2 separate regions of the Homo sapiens genome follow, and region 2 is linked to region 1. The links are contacts of gene promoters, found by promoter capture Hi-C in blood cells and fetal thymus (Javierre and others, 2016). All regions are on one chromosome and are shown on one strand. The core of a region is centred on a gene start or on the middle of the fragment in contact, and the rest is flanking DNA. Distances in the headings are between cores, read along the strand shown. Region 1 holds the start of CREB3L4 (cAMP responsive element binding protein 3 like 4). Region 2 overlaps GATAD2B (GATA zinc finger domain containing 2B).

Region 1 (5,356 bases), core at 2,857-5,356:
GAGCGGGCCAGTCAACAAAGGCTTTGATTATATGGATATTTTTAAAAGAGGGAGACCCCGCATTGTCAAGTCTTCCGGCCCACATCTGAAAACATCTTCCTGGCCTTGGGCCAAAGTCTCATCTGTCCCTCAGAAGGCTCTGACACCTCGTCAGTGCCTCTTGGCGCCCAAGGGAAAGCATTCCCCTCTTGGGACCAACTTCCTTGACTGCTTTCCCTCACCAGCACCCACAACAAGGAAAAAGACAAGGCAGAATTGGAAAGGGGGGAAAGCAAAGAGAGGGTATGTCTTGAAAATCATCCCTTCTCGACTACTTATGGCACTCAGTGCAGCCTCCGCCTTCTCCAGGTGGGTGGGGACGTGGTGGGACCGGAATGCGGGGTGCTGAAGCCGCGCCCAGGGAAGAGCCCCCAGCGCATTCCAGGATATCTGCGTACCGCGCCTGCGGGCGTCTGGCCGGTTCTCCCACCTGATTTCCAGCCCAGCTCCCGCCACCCTCGCCGGTCGGTTTGCTGTTTGCTGTTCCTTGAATGCCCCAAGGTAGTTGTTTCAGCTCAGGACTTTCACCGTTTCCTCAACCTGGATTCTTGTGGCCCACAACTCTGTGCCTTGAGAATCCTCTTCTAGCCTCAAGGGACGGTAAGACAAAAGAAAATTTAAAAAGGGGGCTCAGCTGTTCTTTTATGCAAAGGTGAAAAAAGCTTCATTGCCTAAAGAAGGGACAGATGGGATCTTGCTTCCTACAGGAAAATTAATTTTAAAAAAGAAAAAAAAAAGGGGGGACAGTGTAATGCTTCTCACAAGGCTCCAGAAACGAAGCCCAGTAATTCCTTAAGTAAAAGAGGAATGTGAAGACTTCTTAAGGGGCCGGGCGCGGTGGTTCACGCCTGTAATCCAAGCACTTTGGAAGGCCGAGGATGAATCACCTGAGGACAGAAGTTCAAGACCAGCCTGGTCAACATGGTGAAACCCCGTCTCTACTAAATATACAAAAATTAGCCGGGCGTGGTGGCGGGGGCCTGTAATCCCAGCTACTCGGGAGGCCGAGGCAGGAGAATCGCTTGAACCCGGGAGCCGGAAATTGCAGTGAGCCGAGATCGCGCCATTGCGCTCCAGCCTGGGCAACAACAGCGAAACTTCGTCTCAAAAAAAAAAATTATTCGTAATTGGTAACATTAACAAGGAATTATGACTGGGGGGGTCAGGAAACCTGGATTCTGGTCCAAGTTCTACCTTTATAGTTGTCAAATATATATATTTGTTTATTTATACACATACATATGTCATATATGATTAATAATTGTATATATTTATGGTGTACAACATGATGTTTTGAAATATATGTACATTGGGCCGGGCGCGGTGGCTCACGCCTGTAATCCCAGCACTTTGGGAAGCCGAGGCGGGCAGATGACGAGGTCAGGAGTTGGAGACCAGCCTGCTCAACATGGTGAAACCCTGTCTCTACTAAAAATACAAAAATTAGCCAGGCGTGGTGGCGCATGCCTATGATCCCAGCTACTCAGGAGGCTGAGGCAGGAGAATCGCTTGAACCGGGGAGGCGGAGGTTGCAGTGAGCCAAGATCACACCTCTGCACTCCAGCCTGGACGACACAGCGAGACTCCGTCTCAAAAAAAAAGAAAAAAGAAAAGAAATATATGTACATTGCAGAATGGGTAAATCAAGCTAATTAACATATGCATTACTTCACATATTTATTTGTGATGAGAACATTTAAAATCTCTTGGCAACTTTATTTCTTTTCTTTTTCCTTCCTTCCTTCCTTTCTTCTTTCCTCCTTTCTTTCTTGACAGAGTCTTGCTGTGTTGCCCAGGCTGGAATGCAGTGGCATGCTCTTGGCTCACTACAACTTCTGCCTCCCAGGTTTCAAGCAATTCTCCCGCCTCGGCCTCCCGAGTAGCTGGGATTACAGGCGCCCGCCACCACGCCCGGCTAATTTTTGTATTTTTAGTAGAGACGGGATTTCACCATGTTGACCAGGCTGGTCTTGAACTCCTGACCTCAGGTGATCCACCCGCTTCAGCCTCCCAAAGTGCTGGGACTGCAGGTGTGAGCCACCACACCCGGCCCAATAGATCTCCTCAATTTTACCTTACCTTGATGTATGATTTTAGGCAAGTCAGTTTTCCTCACCAGAGTTTGATAAATCAGGGGCAAGGAGGAAGTTAAACAAGCAGATGACTGCAGAGGGTCCTTCCAGTTCTAACATCAACGGAAGCTAACTACATTCCCCACTCAAATCATCTCTGCACATACAGCCCGCAGGAAGCCCTTTGAAATGTATTTAACCACCTTTCTCGCTCTCAGAATGATCTCAACAAGAACAGCTTTGCTTTCCTTGGAGCTCTGCATCAATCTAGGAAGGCTGCTTTGTCTCTTCACTACTTGAGCAGGATGGAGAGATATGAGCGGGAAAGACAGATAAGAAATCTGAGAAAGCCCCACAAGGTGGGTTGATAGTGTGAAGAACATGGGCTGAAGCATCCAAATCTTGGTTCAGCTACTTACAGGGTAACCTTGAGAAAGTTACTTAAACTTGTCAGCTCGGACGGGCGTGGTGGCTCACGCCTGTAATCCCAGCACATTGGGAGGCCGAGGTGGACGGATCACGAGGTCAGATCGAGACCACCCTGGCTAACACGGTGAAACCCTGTCTCTACTAAAAATACAAAAAAATTAGCTGGGCGCCTGTAGTCCCAGCTACTAGGGAGGCTGAGGCAGGAGAATGGCGTGAACCCGGGAGGCGGAGCTTGCAGTGAGCCGAGATCGAGCCTCTGCACTCCAGCCTGGGCCACAGAGCAAAAGAAAAACAAACAAACAAACTTGTCAGCTCCATCTGCTGTAAGAATTATATGAGTAACATGGAAATGCCTGACTAGACCCTGTTCCCGTTTTTACCCTTAGCCCGTTCAAATCTTCATAAGGATAATTAGTAGCAGTTTGAGTTCTGGGATTCACACTCCAAACTACTGTTTTACTCACCCAGCTACCCTTTTCTGAAATACTACTGAAAACCATACCTGTATCAGTTTACCTCCATTGTTTTACTTGAAGTGAATTCCTGGACCATCAGACATTAGACCAAGGCAAAAAAATAAAAATAATCAATCAACCCTGAGTTTTGGTATTACTACTTTCTAGTCATGGATCTGCCTCCTCATAGGTAAAATTTGCAAAATATTACCCGCCGTGTGTGCCTCAGAACTGTTATGGATTAAGGAAGAGAACAATTTTTATGAAAACGTTTTGTAAATTATACAAGTGTGGGACATAATGTTCCCGGTAACTGTATGCAAACAATAAGACAACAAACGCAAAAGGCTTTTTAACTTGTTGCAGTTTTCCTGCCCCGTGTCCCTCCGTGAATGAGCAGCGTGCAGCGAGCGTGTGCGCACAGCTGCTGTTCTCCATTAACGCCACACTGCTCGGCTTGCGGACGGGGAAACCCGCCATCGCGCTCCTGCCGCCTGCCGAGCGAGGATCACCGCTCCACTGGGGTCAGCGGGCTGTTGACTCCCCGCCTGGGTGAAACCGGAGCTTCCGAGTCACGTGGCGCGCGAAGACAAACCTGGCTGCTCAGGGTTTCCCGGAGCTTTCTCCCAGCTTCCCGGCGATTCATATTCTGGCGCTTACCCCTCCCTTTAGGCTGGCGGAACCCAATCCCCGCCTGACAAATAAGTCCCGCCGGCCGGACGCAGTGGCTCGCGCCTGTGGTCCTAGCTGCTCGCGGTGCTGAGGCGGGAGAATCACCTGAGCCCGGGAGGTCGGGGGCTGCATGGAACCGTGATCGCACCACCGCACTCCAGCCTGGGCAACAGAGCGAGACCCTGTCTCCAAAAATAAGAATAAAGAAAAAAAAAAGAAAGAACTGCGGCCCCATTGGCCTGACTCTCCTGAACAGCCAAACTGTCTCCGACCAGTTACGGAAGAGGCGGCCTTGAGAGGGTAGTGTGCCATTGGCTCGATGTCCTGCCCCTCCGAAACCTAAGTCTTCAGCTTCCAATCAGGACTCAGCTTTGGGAAGAGCGCCACGCGGTGGGCGAGGGGATGCCCTAGTAAATTCGCAGGTCTCTTGACTCTTTCCGCCTTTGTTTACAACCCTGCCATGATCTCCCTCTTGCAAAAGCGAGGGCTACAGAACAGGCATTCAGGAGTCCTGTGCTCCAGTCACAGCCTTTTCTGTTCTTCAGCTAGGAGACACCAAACCCTCAGGAAGATTTACTATAGCTAAGAGAAAACTGCAGCAGAAAGGGCGCGGCTACCTACTTCTTAAATTCCGTTTGTGGACCCTCAGACTCTTAGTCCCCTACTCCCAGATACAGCGGCCCTACCGTGGCTCCTGGCAAGGTGGCATCCACTTTTGTAGTGTAAGGCTGGGGGCGGGGTTTGGCTGGCAGGTCCAGGATACGAGATCCTGGAAGAAAGAAAAGGTGTAGTGTTTGGGGAGGTCAACGGGCTATGCTGGCTTGACAGGGCTGGGCTCTTCAGAACAGGTAATGCTTGGGGGGGGCCTCTTTGTCTAAACCTGAGGGATAGGGCTGAAGGTGAAATATCGAGGGGACAGGTGAGGGGGCTTGCTAGTGAGGAAGGAGTGGGGGGGCGGGGATAATGGAAAAGGGAGCAGAGGAGCCCAGAAACTGTAGGGGGTAGTAAGCAGCCATCATTCCGTTTCTGCAACCCTCCGTCCCACACGCCTTCCTGCAGAAGCATGGATCTCGGAATCCCTGACCTGCTGGACGCGTGGCTGGAGCCCCCAGAGGATATCTTCTCGACAGGATCCGTCCTGGAGCTGGGACTCCACTGCCCCCCTCCAGAGGTTCCGGTAACTAGGCTACAGGAACAGGGACTGCAAGGCTGGAAGTCCGGTGGGGACCGTGGCTGTGTGAGTGTGACGAGTGGGAGTGGGGGTGGGGTTGAGACACAACTCTGTGATAAGAGGCTTCAGCTCCCACTTGGAGACAGGTCTGAAAACAGACCACCCCCAAAATAGACGTAAGTTGTATAATAACTGTCTCCATGCCCAAGAAGTGAAAGGACTGAAAATGAAGCATAAGTCAGGGAGGACTTCCAAAATTCTTCCCTGCACATATATATAACCTTTTCCTACTGTAGGGCCTTCAAGAGAGTGAGCCTGAAGATTTCTTGAAGCTTTTCATTGATCCCAATGAGGTGTACTGCTCAGAAGCATCTCCTGGCAGTGACAGTGGCATCTCTGAGGACCCCTGCCATCCAGACAGTCCCCCTGCCCCCAGGGCAACCAGTTCTCCTATGCTCTATGAGGTTGTCTATGAGGCAGGGGCCCTGGAGAGGATGCAGGGGGAAACTGGGCCAAAT
Region 2 (7,969 bases), core at 2,111-4,610, 120 kb before region 1:
TCATGTAGTCAATTGCCTAACATCTCCATTTGGGTGTTGTCTTAGTCCATTATGCATGGTGGCTAACGCCTGTACTTCAAGCACTTTGGGAGGCCGAGGCGGGTGGATCATGAGGTCAGGAGTTCAAGAACAGCCTGGTCAAGATGGTGAAACCCCGTCCCTACTGAAAGTACAAAAAAATTAGCCAGGTGTGGTGGTGGGTGCCTGTAATCCCAGCTACTCAGAAGGCTGAGGCAGAGAACTGCTTGAACCCGGGAGGCAGAGGTTGCAGTGAGCCAATATCGCGCCACTGCACTCTGGCCTGGGCAACAGCGAGACTCATCTCAAAACAAAGCAAAAAACAAACAAACCCCCCCCCTCCCCCAGACTGGGTAATTTATATAGGGGTATGTGGGTGTGTGTGTTCTGTTTTGTTTTGTTTAGAGATGGAGTCTCTCCATGTTGCCAAACTCCTTGAGCTCAAATGATCCTCCCACCTCAGCATCCCAGGTAGCTGGGGCTATGGGTGTATGTCACCGTACCCAGCTTTGGGCACTTTATAATGACCAGAAGTTTATTGGCTATTTATTGGCACACAGTTCCAGAAGTTGGGAAGCCTAACATCAAGGTACTGGCATGTGGTGAAGACCTTCTTGCCATCTAATAACATAGCAGATGGCAAAGAGAGGGTGCCCTTTTATAACAACATTAATCCCACCCATGAGGGTAAAGCCCTAACAACTTAATCACTTCTTAAAGGTCCCACTTCTTAATATTATTACAATGTCAATTAAATTTCAACATGAATTTTGGAGGGACAAACATTCACAAGATAGCAGATATCTAACAGGCATTTTATAATCTTATGTCCAAAATTGTTTCTTCCCCTACTGTTACACATCTTAGCAAATGACACCACTATTCAAACCAAACACTTGGAGTCATTCTTAGTTCCTCTTTCTCATACCCACATGCATTCTATCTGTAAACTCTATCAGCATTACCTTCCAAATATATTTTAAATTTGACCTTGTTTTTTCTTTTTTTGAGACAGTTTCACTCTTTCACCCAGGCTGCAGTACAGTGGCGTGATCTTGGCTCACTGCAACCCCCTCCTTCCGGTTTCAAGCGATTCTCCTGCCTCAGCCTCCTGAGTAGCTGGGATTACAGACATGTGCCACCTCACCCAGCTAATGTTTTGTATTTTTAGCAGAGGTTAGGTCTCACCATGTTGGCCAGGCTGGTCTTGAACTCCTGACCTCAGGTGATCCGCCTGGCTTGGCCTCCCAAAGTGCTGGGATTACAGGCATGAGCTACCATGCCTGGCTGTATTTAATCCTTTTAAATGCACTTATTCTATGGTCTATAGTCAATGAACTGGAGATCTAGTCCTGAGAGGTAGTGTATCTGTGACTCTTATTCATGGTAAATGAGCTGTTTTCTTATTTTTTGTCACTTTTGATTATGAGCCTTGTCACAATCAAGTGGGTTATTCAGTGGGATTTTATCTGTTAGAATCCTGTGTGGCTTAAACTGTGGATCTGTTCCTCCAGAGTAGCTTTACATATGCTTCCGCTGGTTACCCCAAGGGTATTATACAGGGTCCTGAATAATTTTTTTATATTCATTTCCCAGTTTGGGGATCTCAGACCAAGCTGGTGATAATAATTTAAACCCACACAAATAAGCCCATACTTAATTATTTTTCCTTTTTAGGACAGAGTCTCACTCTGTTGCCCAGGCTGCAATGCAGTGGCACAAACTTGGCTCACTGCAGCCTTCACCTCCCGGGTTCAAGTGATCCTCCTGCCTCAGCCTCCTGAGTAGCTGGGATTACAGGCATCCGCCACCATACCCAGCTAATTTTTGTATTTTCAGTAGAGACCAGGTATCACTATGTTGGCGAGGGTGGTCTCGAACTCCTGACCTCAAGTGATCCGCCCACATCAGCCTCCCAAAATGCTGGGATTACAGGTGTGAGCCACTGCGCTCAGCCTAATAAGCCCATACTTAATTTTTAAAAAATTGTTTGTTGGCCAGGTGCGGTGGCTCACACCTGTAATCCCAGCACTTTGGGAGGCCTACGCAGGCGGATTGCTTGAGGTGAAGGAGTTTGAGACCAGCCTGGCCAACATAGTGAAACTTCGTCTCTACTAAATAAACAAAAATTAGCCAGGCGTGGTGGTGTGCGCCTATAATCTCAGCTACTCAGGAGGCTGCGGCAGGAGAATCGCTTGAACCTAGGAGGCGGAGGTTGCAGTGAGCCGGGAACGCGCCACTACACTACAGCCTGGGTGACAGAGCAAGACTCCACCTCAAAAAAAAAAAAGTTTTTTTTTGTTTTATTGTGGTAAAAACACTTAACACAAGATCTACCCTCTTAACAAATTTTCAAGTGTACAATACATTAATGTTGACTATAGGTACAGTGTTGTATGGCAGATCTCTAGAGCTTTTTCCCGTTTGACATTAATTTTACATACATTGTTTAGCAACTCCCCAATTTCTCCTCCCCCTCAGCCTTTGGCAACCACCATTTGACTCTGTCAACCTATGAATCTGACTAGATACCTCACATAAGTAGACTCACATAGTTATTTATCTTTCTGTGACTGTATTATTTCCCTTAGCATAATGTCCTCAAGCTTCATCCATGTTGTCACTCTTTGGGATCCTGATTTTATTTTGGATAAATATCTAGAAGCATGATTGCTAGACCATCTGGTAGTTCTATATTTAATATGTCAAGGAACCTCCATACTGTTTTCCATAGTGGCCGCTTGTACCATTTTGCATTCCCACCAACAGTGTGCAAGGGTTCCAATTTCTTCACTCCCTTGCCACTTAAAAAAAATAGCCATCTTGACATTGACAGGTGTGAAGTGATGATATTTCATTGTGGTTTTGATGTGTACTTCTCTGATGATTAGCAATGTTGAGCAATTTTTCATATACTTGGCCACTTTTATGTCTTCTTTGGAGAATGTCTATTCAGGTCCTTTGTCCATTTTTTTTTTAATCTTACAGTGAATTATATTGAATTCAAAGGTAGTATTCCTATTTGAGAAATAAAAAACTAAAATCAAGTTGTACAAGCAATCATCATGAGATAAATCAGTAAAGAGGCCTGCTCAGATCATACCAGAGCAGACACCAGTTTCTACCCCAGCCCGCATGAAGATGTTTTTATTCAACACAAACAGTAACAGAGGGTAACACAATGGCCACAGAATGAGAACATAAGTGCACTTGAATTTTTTGTGAGTTCTGGCTAGGCTCTAACAAGCCTAGCATTCTTTTCTTACCAGGTGAACAGAAATCATCTGCTAAAGCCAGAAACTTTAAAGCTCTTAATCCAGCTGGAAATAACTATAATTGAGGGCCTTTTTACTAGCTACTTGCTTCCCAATTTAGGGTTGCCTAGCAGGGTTAATTTCAACATAACGAAAGGTGTTAACTGGCTGGCCGCATCATTCACTGGTGACAGGGGCAAGTTTAATGAGTTTTGTGCTCAGATCGCTGGGCCTCCTGGCTGCTCTTGTCCATCTCTGCACTTTGGTCCTAAGCATTCTGAGACTCAGTCAGTTGAGGGTGAAAGGGACCTACCAGCCAGTTGAGGGGCATGTTGTTAACAAGAAATCCATCAAGTCATCTAAAGATTCCTTCATTTTCTGCAGCTGCCCCTTGCTAGAAGTGGAGGCTGTCAGACACTTCCTCAAAGGAGGCAGCATTGCAGAACACTGAGTAGATGTCGCCTGCCATCACCCTCATATGCTTGGCCTGACCTTGGATGTTCTGTGGTCATCATGGATGTTGGACAGAAGGCCGTGGCATGTGGTCTGGAGCTGCTAAGTCAGGTTGCAGGCAATAGCAAGAGTACGTGACTCGATGTGCTCTGCACAGTGGGACTCATCAGTATCATCGTATCCAATATTCCTTTTCCACTCCACCCATGAGAGCTAGAGCTTATCCTGAGCATCCTGAATTTTCTGATTGGCACTATGCACACTCTTCCTGGCAAATTCAATCAAGTGAACAGAAGAACGGAGCTGAGAAATGGTCTCTTGGCTTTTTTGCTTAGCTTCTTTAACCCTGCTGAGAGCCTGCTCATACGAAGTGAAGCTTGGTAGACAGGGAGTGAAGCTTGGTAGACAGGGATCCCAGTCTAACATAACAACTTGGCTTCTGAACCATATCATATCCTTCAACTTTTTTTGCTTCTTTTTCTAGTTCTTCCCCAGTGAGAGGGAGGTACTGTCCTACCAAGAGCTCTGATTTGGTGAGCGCATGTTCCAAGCCACTGCTCATGAGCTGCATTATCTGACTTCCTAAGCTTGTGTTAATGCTGCCACTGACACAGACTTGGGTCTTCTCCACAGTGCCAGTCACTACCCCTTTGGTCTTGTCCATCAACCCTGTGATGAATCCTTGGCCCCAGTCACAGTAGTCGTCACAGCATCTTTTGCCCCAGTCACAGCACCTTTGGCATTGGCAACAACCTGAGTTGATGGCTGATTCAGAATAGGCAGTCTCTCCTCAATCCTGTCTAGCCCCTTACAGACACGGATATTGGCAACTGCAATTTGCAGCTCTAGCTTCTGGATGATGGGCAGAGCACACTGGTCATGGCCACCGAGGTGATGGTCTTCACACCCTTCCCTGCCATCTCACACACAGACTTCAAGTAGGACACTGGTCCTTTGTACTGACATGGGCTGAGGACATGGGGTCATATGTGGAGCTCATCAAGGGCAGGTTGACCACCCGAGTCATCACACTCAGTTGTGGATCAACTGCAACAGATGCCATTTTTCTTCCTGGAGAAATAAATCAACGGACGGCAGTGAAGCGCCTATTTTTTAATATACATATATTTTTTGCTACTGAGTTGTATGAGTTCCTTACATATGTTGGAGATTAACCCCTTATCAAATATATGGTTCACAAACATTTCCTCACATTTTGTAGATTGCCTTTCCATTCTGCTGTTTGCTGTGCAGAAGCTTTTTAGGTTGATGCAGTTCCACTTGCTTTTGTTGCCTGTGTTTTTGATGTCATATCCACGAAATCATTGCCAAGACCAATGTCATAATGCTTTTTCCCTGTTTTCTTCTTATGAGTTTTATAGTTTCAGGTCTTATGTTTAACTCTTTAATCCATTTTGGGTTGATTTTTGTGTACAGTACAAGATAATTTCATTATTTTGCTGTGGATATCCACTTTTCCCAACAACATTTGTTGGAGGGACTATCCTTGCCCTATTGATCCTTTCCTTATTGTATATTCTTGAGTCCAAACATAAATTTTCAGGAGACATTCCCATCTACCCCCAGCCAGAGCCCAAGCTGAGACACAGAAGTTTCCTTGTTTCCTCAAACTAGTAGATGGAATTTTCTGTGGTCCCTTCCTTTCTCTTGAGTATGAACCTTCAAGGCTCCCTGCTTTATATAGAGATTTGCATTTCTAACTCTGTTCCATACAGGCCTAAGGCTCATGGACATTAAAACGAAGCCTTTAGGCCAGGCACGGTGGCTCACACCTGTAATCCCAGCACTTTGGGAGGCTGAAACGGGCGGATCGTGAGGTCAGGAGATCGAGACCGTCCTGGCTAACATGGTAAAACCCCGTCTCTACTAAAAATACAAAAAAATTAGCTGGGCTTGGTGGTGGGCACCTGTAGTCCCAGCTACTCGGGAGGCTGAGAGAGGAGAATGGTGTGAACCCGGGAGGTGGAGCTTGCAGTGAGCCGAGATCTTGCCACTGCACTCCAGCCTGGGCGACAGAGCAAGACTCCGTCTCAAAAAACAAACAAACAAACAAACAAAAACCAAGCCTTTCAGTAACTGAGACTAGGCAAAGCACCCAGAAATACCACAGCATTAAGTAACATGCATACTGCTCATTTTCAGTTCCTCTTTCATTTGCAGTCCCTGAGAATTTTCCTTAATTCTTTCAGGCTCAACTAGCTATACATTTTTAAAAGTTTGTTTAAAAATTAAAAAATAGTTGTTACATTTCATCCAGCATTACTAGGTGTTTTGTAATGAAATAGCAGAAGTGTTTTAGGTTATATAGTCTATTATACTGCCATTATAAAATATGCTGGTCTGGAAATTTAACATTTATTTTCATAAGAACTAGTTCAGTTCATATAAACAAAATAACTCCACAGACGACTAATTGCAAAAGGAAAAACACATCTTAACAATGGAACAATCTTGCTGTTACCTTACCGTAGGGATCAAACTTTTCACTGCAGGCATTGAGACAATTAACATGGAAACAATCTGACAAATCTACAATGTGGAACATATTTCAAATCAATGAGCACGGTCTCTTCAAAAAAGTTGATATAAAAAAAAAGAGGTGGTGATACAGACTGTTCTAGGTTAAGAGAGACTTACAGACATAATCAAATATAATGTATAATCTTTGATTGAATCTTGGTTTAAACACAGCTACAAAAGATACTATGGGGAACTGGGTAAATTTTCAAATGGACTAAGTATTAAATAATATTAGGGAATTATTATTAATCTTGTTGGTTATAATGGTATTGTGGTTGAATAGGAGATTGTCCGTATTTTTTTGAAACGTAACTGTAGCATTAGCTTTCTTTTTGTTTTTTTTTTTTGTTGTTGTTGTTTTTGAGACAGAGTCTTGCTCTGTTGCCCAGACTGGAGTGCAAGATCTCAGCTCACTGTAACTTCTGCCTCCTGGGCTCAAGTGATTCTCTCACCTCAGCCTCCCGAGTAGCTGGGATTACAGACAGGTGTCCCCACGCCCGGCTAATTTTTGTATTTTTAGTAGAGACAGGGTTTTCCTATGTTGGCCAGGCAGGTCTCAAACTCCTGACCTCTAGTGATCCACCCACCTTCCCCCTCCCAAAGTGCTGGGATTACGGGCGTGAGCCCAGCCTACTATTAGTTTTCTATGGCTGCTATAATAAATTACCACAAATTTAGTGGCTTAAACACAATACAAATTGTATTACCTTTCATTCAGAAAGTCATTAAGTCTAAAATGGGTCTAATTAGGCTAAATTCAAGGTATGAGTATGGCTCCTACTTATTTTATATATTTTTTTTTTACACAGGGTCTGGCTCTGTCACCTGGGCTGGAGTACAGTGGCATGATCTCGGCTCACTGCAACCTCTGCCTCCTGCAGCTCAAGCGATTCTCCCACCTCAGCCTCTGGGACTGGGAGTAGCTGGGACTACAGGTGCGCATCACCACGCCCAGCTAATTTTTGTATTTTTTGTAAAGATGGGTTTTTGCCATGTTGCCCAGGCTGGTCTCGAACTCCTGGCCTCAACTGATTCATCCGCCTTGGCCTCCCAAAGTGCTGGGATTACAGGCATGAGTCACCGTGCCCAGTCAGCTCCTACATTTCTTCTGGAGTCTCTAGAGGAAAATCCATTGTCCTGCTGTTCCCTGCTACAGACAATCTACTCTGCTGGGTTCATGGCCACTTTCCTCATCTTCAAGTATCAGGCCTACTCCTCTGACTGCCAACTCTTTGACACTCTTCTGCCTCCTTTAGGACCCTTATGATTATATTGGCCCACCTGGATAATCTAGAATAATTTCCACATTTTAAGGTCAACTGATTAGCAACCTTAATTCCATCTGCCATCTTAATTCTCTGTTGCCATGAAACGGAACATATTCACAGGTTATGGGGGCTGGAGTATAGACATCTTGGGAGAAGGGGCATTATTTTGCCTACCACAGCAATCTTAAGTATTTAGAGGTGAAAGTCTAAAACTTACTTTGAAGTGGTTTAGAAAAAATGTTTATGCTATATATCAACAGCATATTGGTATGTGCCAAGCAAATATGGCAAAATATTCACTGCTGAACAAGATGGTAGTTACACAGCTGTTGCTCGTACTACTCTATTTTTCTATATGCTTAAATATTTTCAATTTAAAATTTAAAAACTAAAAACATTTAAAACTTTAAGATTAAAAAAATTAAAACAAATAAG

Evidence for each region. Contacts are between HindIII fragments. The CHiCAGO score rates a contact against its expected background, and 5 or more counts as called.
Region 2: a fragment that was not itself captured here is called in contact with the fragment with the promoter of CREB3L4 in region 1 in 15 of 17 cell types (total B cells, naive B cells, monocytes and 12 more); the score reaches 14.5 in total B cells.

What each region holds. Positions count from the first base shown.
Region 1 is chr1:153,963,796-153,969,151 of GRCh38, forward strand. It overlaps CREB3L4 (cAMP responsive element binding protein 3 like 4), which reads left to right and starts at 4,107. Exons shown (of 10, transcript NM_001255978.2): 1 at 4,107-4,369; 2 at 4,727-4,904; 3 at 5,135-5,356. The coding sequence starts at 4,731. It also overlaps a transcript of SLC39A1 not described here. RefSeq lists enhancers at 1-529, 3,393-4,249, 3,684-3,903, 4,114-4,223, 4,254-4,373 and 1 more and a silencer at 3,864-4,365. The HindIII fragment of the contact is 4,469 bases long and covers 700-5,168 here.
Region 2 is chr1:153,848,625-153,856,593 of GRCh38, forward strand. All of the region lies in intron 1 of GATAD2B (GATA zinc finger domain containing 2B), which reads right to left. It also overlaps the pseudogene LOC645965. Among named protein-coding and RNA genes, the nearest start is that of GATAD2B, 70 kb to the right of the region's middle. The HindIII fragment of the contact is 1,477 bases long and covers 2,623-4,099 here.